2 separate regions of the Homo sapiens genome follow, and region 1 is linked to region 2. The links are contacts of gene promoters, found by promoter capture Hi-C in blood cells and fetal thymus (Javierre and others, 2016). All regions are on one chromosome and are shown on one strand. Each heading gives the region's core, a stretch centred on a gene start or on the middle of the fragment in contact. The rest is flanking DNA. Distances are from core to core; before and after follow the strand shown.

Evidence for each region. Contacts are between HindIII fragments. The CHiCAGO score rates a contact against its expected background, and 5 or more counts as called.
Region 1: a fragment that was not itself captured here is called in contact with the fragment with the promoter of RAB9A in region 2 in 1 of 17 cell types (total CD8 T cells); the score reaches 6.6 in total CD8 T cells.

The regions. Positions count from the first base shown.
Region 1 is chrX:15,678,143-15,680,910 of GRCh38, forward strand. The region is part of intron 1 of CA5BP1-CA5B (CA5BP1-CA5B readthrough); the gene reads left to right. It also overlaps the pseudogene CA5BP1. Among named protein-coding and RNA genes, the nearest start is that of CA5BP1-CA5B, 4.1 kb to the left of the region's middle. The HindIII fragment of the contact is 3,386 bases long and covers 1-2,768 here.
Region 2 is chrX:13,687,726-13,690,425 of GRCh38, forward strand. RAB9A (RAB9A, member RAS oncogene family) reads left to right here and starts at 1,403. Exons shown (of 3, transcript NM_004251.5): 1 at 1,403-1,563. RefSeq lists an enhancer at 1,103-1,152 and silencers at 1,303-1,542, 1,553-1,712. The HindIII fragment of the contact is 3,610 bases long and covers 552-2,700 here.

The sequences.
Region 1 (2,768 bases), core at 31-2,530, 2.0 Mb after region 2:
TGGCTTACGAAAATTGGATTTAATGCTGACACAAGCCAAGGAATTACCAGAAGCAAGGTTTATTAGGTGTTCTCCAGAGAAACAAAACCAATTGTGTGTGTGTATGTGTATATATGTGTGTGTGTATGTATGTATGTGTGGGTGTGCCTGTGTGTGTGCTTGTGCGTGTGTGTGTGTGTGTGTGTTTAGAGAGAGATTTATTTTTAAAAATTGGCTCGTGAATGTAGGCTCGTGAAATTTGCAGTGCAGGCCAGCAGACTGGAGACCAGGGAAGAATTGATATTACAGCCTGTCTTACTCAGTTTTGTGCTGTAACAGAATACCTGACACTGGATAATTTATAATGAACAGAAATTTATGTGGCTCATGATTCTGGAGGCTGGGAAGTCCAAGGGCATGGTGCCAGCATCTGCTCAGCATCTAGTGAGGGCTCTCTCTTGCATCATCCCATAGCACAAGGCAGAAGGGCAAGAACATGTGCATGTGAGGGGTGGGAGTGGTTGGGGGTGAAGAAGGAGGGAGGGAGGGAAGGGAAAGAAGCCAAATTTATCCTTATATCAGGAACCCACTACCTCAGAAACTAACCAGCTCCCCCTAATAATGGCATTAATCCATTCATGAGGGGAGGGCCCTCATGATTTAATCACCTCCCAACACTTTTGCGTTGCAGATTAAGTTTCCAAAACGTGAACTTTGGGGACACATTCAGACTGGATTGTGAGCACAAACTGGTGCCATGGCACAGCTCCAGTCCAAAGGCAGTCTGGAGGTAGAATTTCCTCTTCCTCAGGGGACCTGTCTTTTTCAACTTAAGGCTTTCGACGGATTGGGTAGGGCCCACCCACATGAAGGGTAATAATCTTTATTCCAAGTCTACTGATTTAAATGTTAATCTTATCTAAAAAATACATTCACAGTGACATTTAAACTGGTATTTGACCAAACATCTGGGTACCATGACCTACCCAAGTTGGCACATAAAATTAACCATCCAAGTAGAAAGGCCTGGAACAGAGCGCTCATTGCCCTCAGAAGGAACCAACCCTGCAGAGAACTTGGACCTCAGATTTCTAACCTCCAGAACCATGAGACAACAAAAATTTTTAAGCCAACCAGTCTATGGTACTTTCTTACGAGCTAATACATTGGCCTAAAGACCTCCGGTAGGGAGTCAAGCCTAGAGGTAAGGAACCTCCACAGGATTCACTAACTTCCTACCAGTCCCCTTTAATGTAATGGCTGCACATCTCTGGCTCCCTGAGTTCAGCGCACATTAGCAAAGTGATGCATATGCAAAGCAAAGCGCATGGCACTGTGCCAAAAGACTGGCTTCTCATCCTGCTGTGCTTTATTTCACAATGCACATAGAGATGATTCTCGCTCCTTTCACGTAGGTGTAGTCTTCTCTCTAGCTTAGATGGAGCAGGATCAAGGACAGCAGTACAGAGGAGAAGAGCTAGTTCACAGCCAATTACTAGCATGAATGTGCACAAAGAGAGGGGAGGATGAAAGCACGTTTGCCTCCTTTCTCAGCATCACTGAGGACCATGATGTGGGTTTTATATCTTACATTCTTCTTGGAAAGATGGTGTAAAGAAATAAAGTTCAGATTTGTAAGGGAAATGTGTCTTTAGTGCCCCTCAACTTCTACATTTGTGCCTTTTGCCACCCATTCCCACCTACCCCAACCCCCACCACTACCCCACCATGGCCATACTGCTGAGAGCCCCTCTTTTGGCAAGAGAAGGCAGAATCTGAGGTGGCAAAAAACACCCTGCTGCAAACTGGTTTGCTCTGTGTTTCTCTTACCCATACTATGTGCATTTCAGGAGGCTCCTAAGGGAGAAATTACATACCTGGAAGGTACAGTTCAAGTCTTGGTCATCTTTGCATCATAGCACCCACCACTGTGCTTGGAGCAAAAGAAATGACAATACATTTTGAAATGAAAGTGCTAACTGGCAGAATCCCAGCCCTGTGAGACTAGATGAGGTTCATACTCAGGGAGGGTCCTCTTTTTAGATCAGGCAGGATTTGGGGGGTCCTTTGGATCTTTTAGATAGGGGTATGAGACCCTCCTCTCAAAGGAGAAATATTTAAAAGTGTTTTAAAAGTATAGACATCCCTACAAATGGGTGATGACGTTTGAGAAAAGGAAAGACCCCTAGTACTGTCTCAGAGCATGCTGGCAGTCATGGCACAGTTCTTAGTTCTTGAAATGCGGACCAACATCTTTGTCACCAAGGGAGCCTACTCGGGTCAGTTGGCTAGTACTCCCAGCACCCATTTTGAATGAGGCACTGTGTCCCTAAGAGATGCAGCTCTGACCAAGGCAGACACGGTCCCTACCACCATGGGGCTTAGATACTGGAGAGGATGCAGTCATAAAGTACATTCCTGGTGAGGTATTAATTCGACTGTGATAAGCACTGTGACCACAAAGCAGTTCTGGGCTGACCTGGTGAGCTTGTGGTCGGGGGAGCTTAGAGGAAGTGACGCTGGTGTCAGTCACCTGAAGTGGGGGTAGGGATTCACCAGTCACAGATGGAGGGAGAGTCCAGGAAAGGAAGGGCATCTGCACAGGCCAGAGGGAAAGGCAGGAGTTGGAAGAACTAAAGTCCATGTGGCTGGTGGGCGGGCAGAAGCGCAAAGTGAATGTGAGTGAAAGCAAGTGGGTCTGTCATCTTGGGGTGACCAATGAGTTTGAGGAACAAGAGTGGATAATTGACTCCCATTTGCCCTCCCCTTCACCTCAGGGTGCGTATTAC
Region 2 (2,700 bases), core at 153-2,652:
GCATTAGCAGTTGCACAGATAAACTCCTATTTGATCACTCCTTGACTATGGTTAGGATATACGATTTTCAGGTGGCATTTCTTTAATTACCCTGTGGATTGCTTGTTGCAATTTGACCCAATGTACATGACTTTTTTTTCTATTGGAAAATTAACTCTAGTGTTCATATATAATGTTTTACTGTGTACTTTTAATATGTGTTTTAAAACAAGATAGTGTATATTTCTTCTTCCCCCCAATTTAACAGATTTGTATTTTATAAACGTTTATACATATTTCCTTGGGGAAATGACCTGCAGATAAGAAATAGATTTCTGTTTATGAGAAAACAATTATTTAAGCTTATGTGTCGTTTTCAGAAGCATTCTAAAATTGCCTTTTTAATTTGTGAGGAACTTTCTCAAACATGACCTTTCTAGTGCTGAATGAAAAGTCATTACCTGAAAATGACTCCCCAAAAAGCTGGAGATTATTTAACTTGTTGTGAGCCCCAGCATCATAAAAGTGAGATCTTTGTCTTGGAAAATAAACAGACTAAATCTTTTTTAAAAAGCTTTTATTTTAGGTTTAGGGGTACATGTGTAGGTTTGTCATGTAGGTAAACTGCCTGTTGCAAGGGCTTGGTGTACGGATTATTTAGTTACCCAGGTAATAAGCATAGTACTTGATACCTAGTTTTTTTCTGCTCCTTTTCCTCCTCACACCCTCAACCCTCAAGTGGGCCCTGGTGTCTCTTGTTCCTCTCTATGTGACCATGAGTTCTCATCATTTAGCTTCTACTTATGAGTGAGAACACGCAGTATTTGGTTTTCTGATAAACAAACTAAATCACCGTACAAAACGTATTGAGATGTCCCTATGAGTCCCTCCCGCCTGTAGGGTTCTGTATCATAGGATCCATGCACTCAACTTCATACATAAAGCAAGGACTTAAGGAGAGCTTCTCCAATACCACCTTTTGCACCATCGCTTTCTATTCAGAGATGACAGAGGCAGTATTTTAACAAGATTAAAGGAAAGTTTTAATAGCTTCATTTAAAAAGTTCTTGTTTTTCCACAGTATCACAACTGTTTTCATTTTTCATCCACCTGTTTGTTCTTTGTCCGTTTGACTAGTCGTTTTTATCATTGTAATCACGACATCCTGTGACTGTGCTCATGAGGTCTGTTTATTTCCACTTTACGTAAACTTTTCAAAATGACAGTTATTTCGTACTCGCTGTCGCCCGAACGCAGACGGGAGGACACTTCAGGAGCAATCGACCCGAAGGAAAAGCACGATCCAGGCCCCGCCTGCCTCGGCTCCACCTTCCCCGCGCCCGTCCCCCAGGGTCTCGGCCGCGGGACCCCGCCTTCCAGGCCCCGCCCCGCTTTTTCCCTGGCCCCGCCCCGGCCCGTCGCCATGTTGTTCCCTCCGCGCTGGACGGGAGCAGCTGGAGCGGGAGCCTGGCTGCGCTACCGCGGCTGCCTCCTGCTGTGCAGGTCCCCGACCCTCTCTCTGTCCTCATTGCGCCCAGACGGGCCGGCCCAGAGCTCCCGGGTCGTCTTTCGTGTGGCCGCGAGGTGAGCGGGACTCGGGACTCCTTCGGGACCGGGCGGAGTGCGCGGGTGTCGGGGTCTGAGGGGGCGGCTCGGGCCTCGGGCAGCTGGGGCGGGGTGCGGTGCGCGCGGGGCTAGCGCGGGTCACAAGGCCGCCCCGGGAGAGAGGACGGCTGGTTGTCTCCCTGCCTCCTCTCTGACGCAGGAGGAAAGACGGTCCCCACACCCTTGGGGAGAGGGACTCACAGAAACACACACAAACACTGGAGAAAGGGAGATACAAAAGCCCGGACACCCGTGCACATACACACGGAGAAATACACCCGGTCACCTGGGAACACACGTACACGCCAGCCTTTCCCCCAACCACTCCGGGACACACATCCACAGACCCCAAACCAAATCCTACACCCGAATGATTAATGTAGGGAAAACAAAGGCGCTCCCATGACTTGATTTTGGCGACCTCTGAAGTTCCACCTAGCAGAACGTGTTTGCTCGATGTCTTACGACCACTCGGGTGAGGAATTCGGAAAGTAAAGCCAATCTTAGAGGCTGCAGGCGTTTTGGGGGCATTATCTGATTCAGACGCTGGCTAACGTTTCACAATCGCGTTCCCTTTTTTCTTCCAACTTGGTAAGTAAAAAGGCAAAATGAGAAATTTAAGTGCTGAACTTAATAAATAGTTGGTGGACGTATTGCTTTTTTTTTTTTTTGGTAAGGGATGACACATCTCGTGACTACAGTTCTTTTGAGGAATAACTTTTCTGCTAGTTTCCAAATCGGCACGTGACCACAATCTTTTCATAGGATTTTAGCGTCCTGATAAAAATCAATGGGCAGAATTTGATTGCTTCTTTAAAAATGTGTTTGTCCTTCGGTCTCTGGCACCATTGTAATGGAAAATCCCTACATTGCCTGTACTCTCAGAAGCTGTCCAGTGTAGCAAAACTAGAGATAAAGAAACCTGGAACGATTCAGTTAGGAACTTTTAAGAAGCCAGCCTTTAGTTTTTCCTTTAGAAGATTATGAAGTTATCATGATTGCTTCTCTAGAACTTTAGTAGTTATTTGGATTCCTAAATCTAAGACAATGCTGTGGCAGTCTGGTGCTTTTAGTATTTTTGTGTCTGCTGTGGTAAATTCCTCGTTTATACTACAA